Regions from separate parts of the Homo sapiens genome. Here region 1 is linked to region 2. The links are contacts of gene promoters, found by promoter capture Hi-C in human tissues and cell types (Jung and others, 2019). All regions are on one chromosome and are shown on one strand. Each heading gives the region's core, a stretch centred on a gene start or on the middle of the fragment in contact. The rest is flanking DNA. Distances are from core to core; before and after follow the strand shown.

Region 1 (6,082 bases), core at 477-2,976, 170 kb before region 2:
AACTTGGTGATAGATTGGCCAGCGAGGATGAGAAAAAAGGTGGAACTGATCAGCCTTCTTTAGAACATGGTGGATGGTTGGGCCTTCACCAACGTGTAAAACACAGTAAAGAGCTTAGCTTATGTTTATTTTGGGGGTGATGTTTCCTCCCACTCTCGTATTCCCTTGCAGCACTGCATTTACAGGAAAAAATTCCTGGAAGAGAACTGACTAAATTAAGTACATGTGTATTTGAATTTTCGTACATATAACCACACCGTTTCCCTTAAGAGTTCATTTGGTTTTGTATTTGGTTGGTTTGATACATGAAAAGTGATGTCTCACTGTCAATTTTATTTCTATATTTATATTTATTTGTTTTGTATGAAGTGTCTATTAATATCCTTCCTCAGTTATCTCTTGGTTGTTTTTCCTATTGATTTTTTTAAGCTCAGTATAATAATGAGATTAGGACTTTGCATTGCAAATATTTTTGCCAGTTAAATGTCTGCCAACTGGAAGTATTAATTCTTATTTAGTCAAGTTGGTCAATATTTTGTTTTATGGTTTCTGAGTTTTTTATAATGCTTAGAAAAGGCTTCCCTATTCCACAATTATTTGAATGTTATCCTCTTATTTTTTAATCTAATATTTTCATAGTTGTATCTTAAATATGTAATTCATATAGAACTGATTTTGATGTAAAAAGATAAGGCTCCACAGATGGCTATTTACGGCCTCAACACTTTTCACTGAGTAACTCATCATTTCCCCTACTACTTTACATTGATATTTCTTTAAACCATAAATTAAATTGCTGTACATACTCATGTCTACTTTTGGGTTACCTTTTCTCTTTCACTAAGCCTATCTATTCCAATGTTAATCTAAACTGTTTTAATTATTGTGATATTATATGTAATATCCCATTCATTATTCCCATTCATTACTCTTGTTTTAAATAGATATTCTTACATATTTATTTTCCATATAAACTTTAGAATCAGATTGGTTTGAAAAAAATCATGTTATTTTAAAAATTGGGATCAATTTTATTTCCAAATGTATATAATAATTTGGGGAATCTTGTTGTCTTTATCCTACTAAATTTTCTTAGTGAAAAAAGTATCTCTTTACTTATTCGTATCATTTTTTTTCCTTCATGCATAACATTGAGAACTTTCTGATTTTTGTTTGCAGGAAAGAAAACTATTGGTTTGCTAAACAAGAGCTTTATAGTTGATTAACTTTGATTTTCCATGTATACACGTATTTCATTTGCTAATGACAATTTAGCTTTCATTTTTCATAAATCTTTTTCTTTCTCTTGTTTAATTGCATAGGCCAGTAACTCCAAAACGTCAAAATCATAACGACAGTGTGCACTGTTGTGTTTTTTTTTTCTGAATTTACAGGAAAAAATAATAAACATTTTATCAGCTTTCAGCAGAGATGCCATACACTTTCTGTACTTCCCAATCCTGAGTTTTCTTCACTGTCACTCTTTGTCGAATACCTTCAACCCTGAAAATTCCTTCCCTTTGTTTAAAGATAAAAAGCAAAGTTGTTCATCCATTGCTTAGAAAGGAAAAATTGTAGTGGAGGCAAGGTTAAAAAGGAGCAGGCTGAACTCCATAGCAATCGCCAAAGCAAGGGGTTAGGAAAAGTTTCTTGGTCCCCTAGTCACTCTTTAGAAGGAAGAACCCGGGCTTGGGGAGGAGTCGGGGCCACCCCCGCCCCCTGCCCGCAGTCGTTGCCACCCGCGGAGATGAAATGTGAGCCTGGGTGGCCAAGGACGCCGGAGTGGCCGCCTTCCCCGCGCCTGAGCGCAGTGGGGCGAGACAAAGAGACCTGGGCCCCCAGCGCAGCCCGTCTCGGGCCACGGGCGCCCCAGCTCCGCGGAGTCCCGCAGTCGCTGGCCCGGGACGCGCCCGGCCCGGGCTCCCTTGGAAGGCTCCCTAGGCAATGGCCGGGTCTCTGCTCCACCCGGCTCTCAGGAGCGCTGCTCTCTCCATCTGATCGCCCTCCATCCTCCCCATTCCCTCCGGTTCCGGGCTCTCCCTTCGCTCCAAGCCTCAGGCCACCGGCTTGGATGGACGCTCCGAGGCTACCCGTGCGTCCAGGGGTCTTGCTTCCGAAGTTGGTCCTGCTCTTTGTCTACGCAGGTCAGTGACGGAGGGCGGCGGAGAGGGTCAGAGGCTCGGGGCTGCCCTTGGGTCACGGTCCGGGCTAACGTGGGTTGAGCTGGACGGACCGGGACCTTTGCAGAAGGACCTTTGCAGACGCTTCTGCCTTTTCCGCGAGGCGACGGCAGAAACCCGCGCACTTCCAGCCGCACGCGGTTTTGTTTTGTTCCTTTTCCTTTAACTTTTACCTTTTGCATTTCTTTTCTTTCCCTTTCCACCTTGGAAATAGCAGTCTCGTGTTTAGGGGATTTGACTCTCTGGATAGAGTAAACTATATCCAAATAAACTTATCTGGATAGGCTAGGCAGTGGCCTCTCCATCTTCTGCTTTCTAAATAGTCCTGGTTTTCCCTCTTGTGAATAAAAAAAACTTAGAGCTTTGTTTTCGTTCTTTGGGAGATTCACAAGTGTGGTAGACTGAGCTATTGGACTGAAGTCAAACACAAGGTTTTTGAGAAGCATGAATTCACCCAGGGTCTAATCTGTACAGGTTCGTTGATTTAGATAGACACTTGTTTATAAGAGAAGGGCATCTGGTTTCCCTTCTAATTATTCGTAGTAAGAACTGCTAATAATTAACGAAGCAAAGTGGGTTTTCTTGTTTGTGATTAATATGGAGCCCCAAATGGCCTTTCATTGGTTATTCAGGTATAAAGTGTCTTACACACGTGGTCTTTGCATCAGTTCATATTCACAAAACAATGCAAGCTAAAAGCAAAGTTCTTTGTAAAATGTTTTTGTGTCTCTAACGTCCTATGACAAAAATCGCAGGCTCACCCCTGAGCCTCCAATACGAAATGTATATATAGCACTGAAATTTACCTTTGATACTCAAAAAGATATTGCAACTGAAATGATGTTCTTCAGTGTTGCACCTGAGTATTAAAAGAATTGAATTTCTCATTCAACCTTGCTAGAAAAGAGTCACCATAACTTCTGTAGACATTTTTAGCCTGTTTATTGAAATGCAAATTAGTGGCTGTCTAGGAGTTACCATTTTAAAGATGTTTTATGGCAGGAAAAATGCTGACCTTCTAATATGAAAATTCATAAAAGTAGGATAAGTTCTTCGTATTTAATGAAGAGAATTACATTTAATCTGTTTACAACATTTATTTCTTTTATTAAATTTGTATAAGGTTTTCAGAATTTGAGGGATTAACAGAGTCAACTGCATTAATATTCATTTTCTATTGAAAAAATCTCTTTATTAGTTCTTTCGAAGTAATTATGCTTTTCACTTCCTCTGCTCGACAATATTTAATACTTTCACTCACACTTATTCAACCACTCCATTGAACCACAATTTTGTTTGTTTGTTTGTTTGTTTATTATATTCCCTGTGGTAAACTGAAAGCTTCTGCTTTACACATCTGCCCCCTCCTCCTGTTTCCCCAGTGCTAGGTGCCCAGCTCCTCAGGGCTCAGGAAATCAGCGAAGCTGGCCAGCAACAAGGGTGGTTAGTTTAGAAAGTTTTCAGTCCATTCATTTCTCTTCTTTGGAATCCCTCTATCATAAGCTACAAAGTAGTTGTAAGCCAGTGCTAAGTTGACTTACTATCTTTGCTAAGAAGTGTTTAGCTAATAAGCTCTTTGGTGTCAATTCCTGGACTTGTTATTCAGAGGCCTTTTTATGCTTTTCATATTCATTCAACTATTACTTACTGAGTGAGGTATGTTGAGCCGTAAGAGGTCATGTTCTTATCAGTCTTCTCTGGGAACTACGGTATGATCATAAGTTACTTTAAGGTATAAAAGGTTGTGTCATAGGAGAGGTAAAATCACGTGCTATAGATGTTCAAAGAAGAAAGTCTTACTGCTGGCTTAAAAGAGTAAGCTTCATGAGGACAATGTCTATTTTGTTCAGCAAAAAGATCAATCAGTATTTGCTCAGGAAAACTGAATTGAAGAAGACTTGAAGGAACTAGACCTTTGAAAAATATAGACGCCCTGAACCCAACGAGACGGAGTGGGATATAGTAGGATATCGTGTGATCAAAGTCAAAAATCAAGATCTGTACATGCAACAAAGGATATTTCAGTTTGGTTGGAACTAAGAGGTATGGCTAGAAGTAAGGGTTGAGGTTAGATGCTGGAACACCACAGAAGTCAAAATAGTTCATACTATTAAATGAATTGCCAGCTTTGTGGGACAAAAATCTAAGTAGATGCACTGCTCATAATCTAAATTATTTTCCCCAAAGCAAATGCATTAGATTCACATTTCATTTGGCTAAACAAATAAGAGCAAGGTTTCTATACCTGAAGCATCATGTTGTACTATAGAGTTACTTTTGGAAGGAGACCCAGTGAAGTGTTGATATTATTGTCTGACTCCCACTGCAGGCTACAAAGACAGGATTCGGTCAAGGTTTTACCTTCCGGGCCTCAGCCAGTAACTTCTGTCTCCTCCCTTTCCTTCCTCTCTTATCTTAGCTATAGCTTGCAAGGGCCATTTCTAAGCAAGTGCTTCAAGCCAGATACTGCTTTTCCTGTTCTGCGCATTCCTTAAGGTGGGAGGCAGGGTGAGTTGGGAGTCAGGGGTGAGTTGGGGAACCTTCTTCCAGACCACACCTTTCAGCAAAAAGTCATTGAAGAAAGTTTAAGTTGGCTGATTTTCAGGGATACTAACTTGGACATTAGAAGTAATATTATTTATCTTCTGAAGACAAATTGGAATGATCTGTTCTTTCTCCAGTGAGAAAAAGCTCCTGTATGGCGCAAACACTGATCTTTGTCAAATTATTCTCAAATATCCCAGAGAAAGCAACCAACATAAAAAAGGCTTTGAAGTGTGGTTGAAATTTCATTTTGGAGAGGTTGTGATTGTAAATGTATTTGCCATTCTGTTAAATCTCCCCTTTTGGGTAGTTTAATTCTGGGAAGTAGACAAGAGCACTGGAAAATGCCATAAAAACAATGACCAGTGTGTAACATGATCCAGATGTTTGCTGCAGGTATAATCCAGCTTCTTGGCTACAACATTTTGGGCTTGGTTTCCTGTAACGTTGGCTCAAAATATTTTGATAACACCATGTCTTTATAAAAGTAGTCACCGGAATGCAACGGTAGCAATTGAATCTTCGATATTGATGGCGAGTTTAATAAGATGTCACTGTCCTGGACATGGTTCAAAAGGCACCCATGACGTTACTTACACATTGGTTGTCCTACTCTGACGGAATAGTGGGGACATTAGCTCTCTCACAATCAGAATGGCTTTTATTTATTTATTTTTTGATAATTTCAACTTCTTTAATTTTAGACTCAGGGAGTACATGTGCAGATTTGTTACCTGGGTATATTTTGTGATGCTGAGGTTTGAGGTACAATGGATCCCGTCACCCAGGTATTGAATACAGTACCCAATAGTTAGTTTTTCAACCCTCCCCACTCCCTTTCCTCCCTGCTCTAGAAGTCCCCAGCATCTGTTGTTGCCATCTTTATGTCCGTGAGTACCCAGTGTTTAGCTCCCACTTGTAAGTGAGAACATGCGGTATTTGGTTTTCTGTTCCTGAATTAATTTGCATAGGATGATGGCCTCCAGTTTCATCCATGTTGCTGCAAAGGACATGATTTTATTCTTTTTTTTTTCTGGCTGCATAGTATTCCACGGTGTGTATGTACCACATTTTCTTTACTGAGTCCACTATTAATGAACACTTGGGATGAATCAGTCTCTTTACTATTTTGAATAGTGCTGTGACGAATGTACAACTGCATTTGTCTTTTTGATAGAATGATTTATTTCCCTTTAGATAGATACCCCAGCAATGGGATCACTGAGGCAAATGGTAGTTTTGATTTAAGTTCTTTGAGAAATCTCCCAACTGCTTTCCACAGTGGTTGAACTAATTTACATTTCCAATAGCAGTGTATAAGTATTCCCTTTTCTCCACAGGCTCACCAGCATCTGTTG
Region 2 (6,634 bases), core at 3,326-5,825:
AATAAAACACCCGAGAGCATAGGAGAGCATCTTTTTGCTCAGTTGCCTGCTCCCAGGAGGTTTAGGTATCGTGGTCTAGCAAAAAGAGCACAGGAAACTCAGTTCAGACCCTGATTTCTTTACTTAATTACTGTATGAAGTTGGTCACTTTATTGATGTGAGGTTGTTCTAACACCTATGTCTCTGAGGATCAGTTTCCTCATCTTTAAACTGGATCTACTATACCTAGCTTACAGATATGAAAATTAAACGAGGCAAGGGTTGTAAACATGCATTGTACATCTTAAGGAACAATGCACATGTTTGCTGCTTTCTTCATACCCAACTCTCAGGGTGTCGGAGAAGAGAGAGAAAAACTGATGAGAGTTGGAGAAGTCAGAGATTTTAGAATAGGGTTCTTTCGGCAAGGCCTTGAGGTCTTGAGCCTTTCAGCAAGGCCTGCAAGCTGGTAATGTTCTGCCTACCCAACATGCTCATAGTCCCTGTGGCCTGTCCTGCACAATGTTAAATTTGTGTTTACTTTGAATTCCTTCAGGAGGGGCACATCATCCCTACTGTCTGTCTGCACAGCCCAGTGAGCAGAGAGCAGCAGGAACAGAGCTTGGGGCGAAAGAGTTTATGTTCTTGAACCTGCTGCAGCCCAGGAGAAACACACAGCAGAGGAAATACAGGTCCTCTCAAGGAAGTCGGGAGGCGCTTCCTACAAGGATATGCATCTGTGTAGGAGGGTTTAAGAAAGCTGGAAACAGGCCTGGATTGGAGGCCGTCAAAAGGTGGGGTTTCTTTTTGTGACTGATTAGCTTACTAATTTTTATCTAGGAGGGAGGCAGGAAGGTGAAATTGAGGTTTGAGTTGTCGCGGGCAAAGGAGCAAACGGAAGGAGGGATCTTTAGCCTTTTTTCTGTTAGCAGTGTGGCCTTATCTCTGTCTTGTCCCAAGCCTGGTCACCATGTAGCCCTGTCTCAACAGGGTGTCTACTCTGTGAGCATGTTTATGATCCATTGGGAAGATCATGGATCATTTTCGATGTCTGATGTCTCACCAGATGCATACATCTGCAAACTTCCTGGCTGCATTAGCTGTCTGAGCTTGCTAGCCTGCCTTCATCGAGGTAGGATAATTTGTGAGTTAAGAGGTATAGGTTGAGAGAGGCCTAATTCTGACAGGGAAAGATGATACAGAGGGGAGTCTTAATGGACGAGTAAGAATGTAGCAAGCATTCACTACAGCAGAGATCGTCAAAGTATGGCCCCAGACAAGCATCATCTGCATCACCTGTGGACTTCTTAGAAATGCAGATTCTTGGTCTTCGTCCCTCACCTACTAAGTCAGAAACCCTGGGGATGATGCCCAGCCATCTGTGGTTTACAAGCCTTCCCAGTGTTGCTGATCAGGCTAGAGTGAGAACTCCAGCCATGAAGTAGGTGAGAAGGCTCACAAGTGCAGCTGTGAGCAGCTCAGTGCAGCTAATAAATACTAGTGTGATTAGGAAAGGCTTTAAGGGGGAAATGGGTGTTGAATTGGGCCTTTCAAGAGGTGGAAAAGTAGGTAGGTGTGAGGAGGAGGAGGAGGAGAGGCTGCCATTGATTCAAAAATAACATGAGCAGATGCTCCTGCCTCTGGCTTAATTCTTAGCTTGGGACTTGAAGTCCAAAGATTGCAGTGCACTGAGGTCAGAATGACAAAAATATGTGAGATAAGACCAAGGGTGCATTATTCTGGATTTTCAACTAAAACGAAGACTTAATGAGGAACTTTCCCAACATTATTCTGAAGTAGGGAAAAATGCTTCAAGCAGTCCATCCGGAAGTTAGAAGTTATCAGAGAATTATAGTAATTGAAAGAGATATTTTAGAGCCAAATTAAAGAGGATGTAAGAGTTACATTAATTGTCTAGAAGACAGCCTTTGTATTGAATATGAGAACACAACCTCAGCTATAAGCTTTTAGTGAAATTAAATCTCATCACCGCTAGCCAAACTTGTGACTTTCCCATATGAAGGAGTGGAGCCCACCTTCCGGAAAAAAATTGCTGCAACACTCACTTGCCAAGGTCTTACAAGAGGGGTACGTGACATGGAGACTAAAAGGAACAAAACCATGATCCTAGTGACGAAAAGACAATCTCCTTGATTTGGGACTTAATGAAATTACATGTTAACCAATTGAGTCATTTCAAATCCAAGATGAGAACGTTTCAACTAGTCTTTTCATTTATCCTGGGTTGGTTTTGTTTTGTTTTTCAGAATTGATTGAGTTGCTTTTGCCTTTCCTTGCCACAGGAATGCACCTGACCAATTATTCATCTTTTCTACTCCTTTGATGTGGATGAGTTTGTGTTCTGTAAACATCTTCCCAGATTGTTTTTTGGACCTTGGAATTCTGTTGAGAGTGCGCGACTGATTTGCATGCTTCTGTCTCCTCCCTGGCTCCATACCTCATGCAGATGTTGCCATTTATGCTTTAGCTTTTTCAGCTCCCTTTATGGCATGAAGTAGTTTCTTCACGTTCCTCTAATTGCACCCTGAGAAATTATCTATCCACATACTCACTGGCAAAAAGCAATAGCAGATGGCTTTAAAACGGAAATAGGAATTCTTCTGGAACCTTAAAGGGAAAGATGGTGTGCAGAGAGTGGATTAATGTGCATTTCACAGTTTTAGTTCCCATTAAGAAAACTCGACTCCATCAAATCAGATATCGACTTGACAAAACTATTCATTCTGTGATGGTTGACTTGCCCTTCTTCAACTGTGACATAAATGTCTGACTTCAGGGAAATAGAGCATTTTCTTTCCTCACTGATGGGAAAACTATTCAAATGCACTGCTATAATATTTATTTAATTAGATTGCTGAAATCTTTCTATGGAGAAGTAAATGCAACCCCTCCCTCTTTCCTCTTTAGACCTATAAAAGAAAGCTGACTTGTAGTAGTAAAATATTTTAATGTGATTTGAGCCTTCCAAAAATTGAAATTTGCAAAACACAAATTTAAGAGAAGCCTCCTATAAACTATACTGTTATTTTAATCAGCTCTTCTATTCACTTTTCTTTTTTTATTTGCCAGCTTTCCTTTTGATTGTGTCATAATAACTGTCTAGACTGTTCTCAACTGTGATGGATTTTAGGAGACTTTGTACAAATGATGCTGGAAAAAAATAAATTAGCAGTACTGTCCATTAAATTACTGTGCATTAAAGTTATGATCAGAAAAAGCATTGATTACTTACATACCAGCTAAGATTGCCTACTGTCCATTTTCTTCAAGGTTACAGCTTGTTAGAAAGCTTATATCTACCTTTCTATCAAAATGCAAGTATATAAACTAAAGAGCTTCTGCACAGCCAATGGAACTATCATCAGAGTCAACAGACAACCTACAGAATGGGAGAAAACTTTTGCAATCTATCCATCTGACAAAGGCCTAATATCCAGAGTCTACAAGGAACTTAAACAAATTTACAAAAAAAAAAAAAAACAACCGCATTAAAAAGTGGGCAAAGGACATGAACACAACACTTCTCAAAAGAAGACATTCATACAGCCAACAAACATATTTTAAAAAGCTCAACATTACTGATCATTAGAGAAGTGTAAATCAAAACCACAATGAGATACCATCTCATGCCAGTCAGAATGGCAATTATTAAAATGTCAAAAAAAACAACTGATGCTGCTGTTGTTGTGGAGAAAAAGAAATGCCTTTACATTGTTGATGGCAATATAAATGAGTTCAACCATTGTGGAAGACAGTATAGCAATTCCTCAAAGGCCTAGAGGCAAAAATACCATTTGACCCAGCAATCCCTTTCCCAGGTATATACCCAAAGGAATATAAGTCATTCTATTATAAAGATACATGCACTCATATGTTCACTGCAGCACTATTCACAATAGCAAAGACATGGAATCAACCCAAATGCCCTTCAATAATAGACTGGATAAAGAAAATATGGTACCCATACACCATGGAATACTATGCAGCCATAAAAAAGAATGAGATCATGTCCTTTGCAGAGACATGGATGGAGTTGGAAGCCATTACCCTCAGCTAACTAACACAGGAAAAGAAAACCAAACACTGCATATTCTCACTTATAAGTGAGAGCTGAACAATGAGAACACATGAACACATAGAGGGAAACAAAACACACTGCAACCTGTGAGGGGGAACAGGGGAAGGGAGAGCATCAGCAAGAATAGCTAATTGATGCTGGGCTTAATACCTAGGTGATGGGTTGATCTGTACAGCAAATCACCATGGCACACATTCGTCTATGTAACAAACCTGCACATCCTGCACATGTACCCTGGAACTTAAAGGTTGAAGAAAAAACACAATTTTAAAAAATAATGACCTCCAACAATAAGTATGTTTCTATGTTCCTATTTAACTTACTGTTTTAAACTAGATGCAAAAGCTTCGTGATAATCTTGATTTAGTGTTAAGTTACAGCTATGATTATAATTGTATCTGGGACCGGTCTTATGAGTTTCTGACTTCTGTGATTCCAGGAACTGCCAAGATTCAAAGTCACAGTTATTTAGGATTTACTTAAAGCAACAACAACAATAACAATAAAAACGTATTATATCGGAAGCAACTCTTCTGGGCTGATATTTAGTCAGTAGGTACTGGTATAGCCATAATGAAATACTTTCCAGCAGGTTAATCAGCTTATGCCCTGAGCCTCCCCAAACCCAGTGCCCTTCCACTCTACCTGGGCTGTCTCAGTACCTCCTCCAGTGACTCTATCTCTTAATGACTTGGCAATGAACGAATGGTTAATACGTGGCTCAGTAAGGAAGCTCTAACCATAGAATGGTCTGATTGGCTACTACTGATTGGTTAGTATATATGTCGTAAACATTTTAACATCCTCCTGATTAAATCTTATCAGTTACCATCTCAGCTAACATCTTAGTATCAGTGTATTGGTTCCTTCTTGCATTGCTGTAAAGAACTACCCCAGACCGGGTAATTTATGAACAAAAGAGGTTTAACTGGCTCACAGTTCTGCAGGTTATATAGAAAATATAGCTGGGAAGTCCTTAAGAAACTTTCAATCATGGTGGAAGGTGAAGAGGAAGGAGTCACATCTTACACGGCTGGAGCAGGAGGAAGCAGGGGCGGGGGGAGGTGCTACACACTTTTAAACAACCAGATCTCATGATAACTCACTCACTATCATGAGAGCAGCAAGGGAGAAGCCCACCCCCATGATCCAATCACCTCTCACCAGGCCCCTCCTCCAACACTGGGGATTACAATTCAGCATGAGATTTGGGCAGGGACACAAATCCAAACCATATCAATCAGTACTCTTGTGATAGTAAAGCCAGGTAGGACTGGGTCTCAAAACAACCTCTGGATGAGTGGAAAGGCATAAAAAGGAGGTAGAGTAAGCCATGAGGAGGGGGAAAAATATGATAGGTGGTAGGGGGCTTTTAATGGGAGGCTTCAAAAGACTGTCGTATTACAAGACTTCTACTTCACAATTTCCTTTCAGGTCAACCTTATCAATGCCAATTACCTAATTGCTGTATAGGATTTTCTCTGAGACAAGGTGATTTACTGTGTTCTGCAATATGATCAGACATATTCAGCCTCTGAAGTTAAAACCTGGTGATATTCATGGGTGAGGAGGATTCTGCCTACAAACTTATATATATCTAGTAGATGTTGTGCCCTGCCCAGATCTCCTTTAGTGCATCTGTGCACCCATCTCCAAGCTGTCGTAAGTGTGGGTTTTCAGTGGCTCATGGATACACTGTCTTCTGCATAATTGGCCTTGGCCAAGGAAAGCCCCTTTTCCTGGACATAGCTGAGGCCCAAGCTTCCACCATCATTGGAATAGCTGCAGCTAAGGACTGATTATGTGGCCAGCCTCCTTGCAGGATAATTTTTTGCACCGCTCACACTCCAGAGTTCCCTATGGCATCAGGCTGAGGCCACAGGTCAGCTGTAACCACACCTTTCCTTAGTTTCTTCCCCTGTGTCATCCTGCTTGCCTCATGTCCTTAGAGATGTACTTAAAAATCTATGTATCAGGCTGCACTTTTAGGGAAACTAATGCATTTTTTCAAAACAGAAATTGAAGACATTTTTCTTTCTAAATATACATGGCAAAAGATTGTATTAATATAGTTTGGATATATGTCCCCTCTAAATCTCATGCCGATTTGTAATCCCCATTGTTGGAGGTGGGGCCTAGTGGGAGGTGATGGGATCATGGAGGCAGATTTCTCATGAATGGCTTAGTACCATCCCCTTGTTGCTGTCCTTGCCATAGTGAATAAGTTCTCATGAGATCTGGTCATTTAAAAGTCTGTGGCACCTCCCTCCACCACACTCTTTCTTGCTCCTGCTTTTGCTATGTGCTGTGCAAGCTCCCATTTTGCCTTCCACCATGACTAAAAGCTCCCTGAGGCCTCCCCAGAAGCCAAGCAGATGCCGGCATCATGCCTCCTGTACAACCTGCAGAACACTACGACAATTAAATCTCCTTTCTTTATAAATTACCCAGACTCAGGTATTTTAAAGAAATTGCAAGCAAACCTCTACTCCACAATTCCCTTTTAGGTCAACCGTATCAATGCCAATTACCTAATTATAGGATTTTCTCTGAGAC

Evidence for each region. Contacts are between HindIII fragments. The study calls those that stand out against the background at their distance.
Region 1: the fragment with the promoter of CYYR1 here is called in contact with a fragment that was not itself captured in region 2 in 5 of the 25 tissues and cell types used here (aorta, dorsolateral prefrontal cortex, hippocampus and 2 more).

The regions. Positions count from the first base shown.
Region 1 is chr21:26,568,930-26,575,011 of GRCh38, reverse strand. CYYR1 (cysteine and tyrosine rich 1) reads left to right here and starts at 1,726. Exons shown (of 4, transcript NM_001320768.2): 1 at 1,726-2,144. The coding sequence starts at 2,072. CYYR1-AS1 (CYYR1 antisense RNA 1) reads right to left here. Exons shown (of 4, transcript NR_135515.1): 4 at 5,760-6,082. The HindIII fragment of the contact is 7,865 bases long and covers 1-3,761 here.
Region 2 is chr21:26,398,561-26,405,194 of GRCh38, reverse strand. It overlaps a transcript of CYYR1-AS1 not described here. Among named protein-coding and RNA genes, the nearest start is that of CYYR1-AS1, 4.1 kb to the left of the region's middle. The HindIII fragment of the contact is 3,918 bases long and covers 2,617-6,534 here.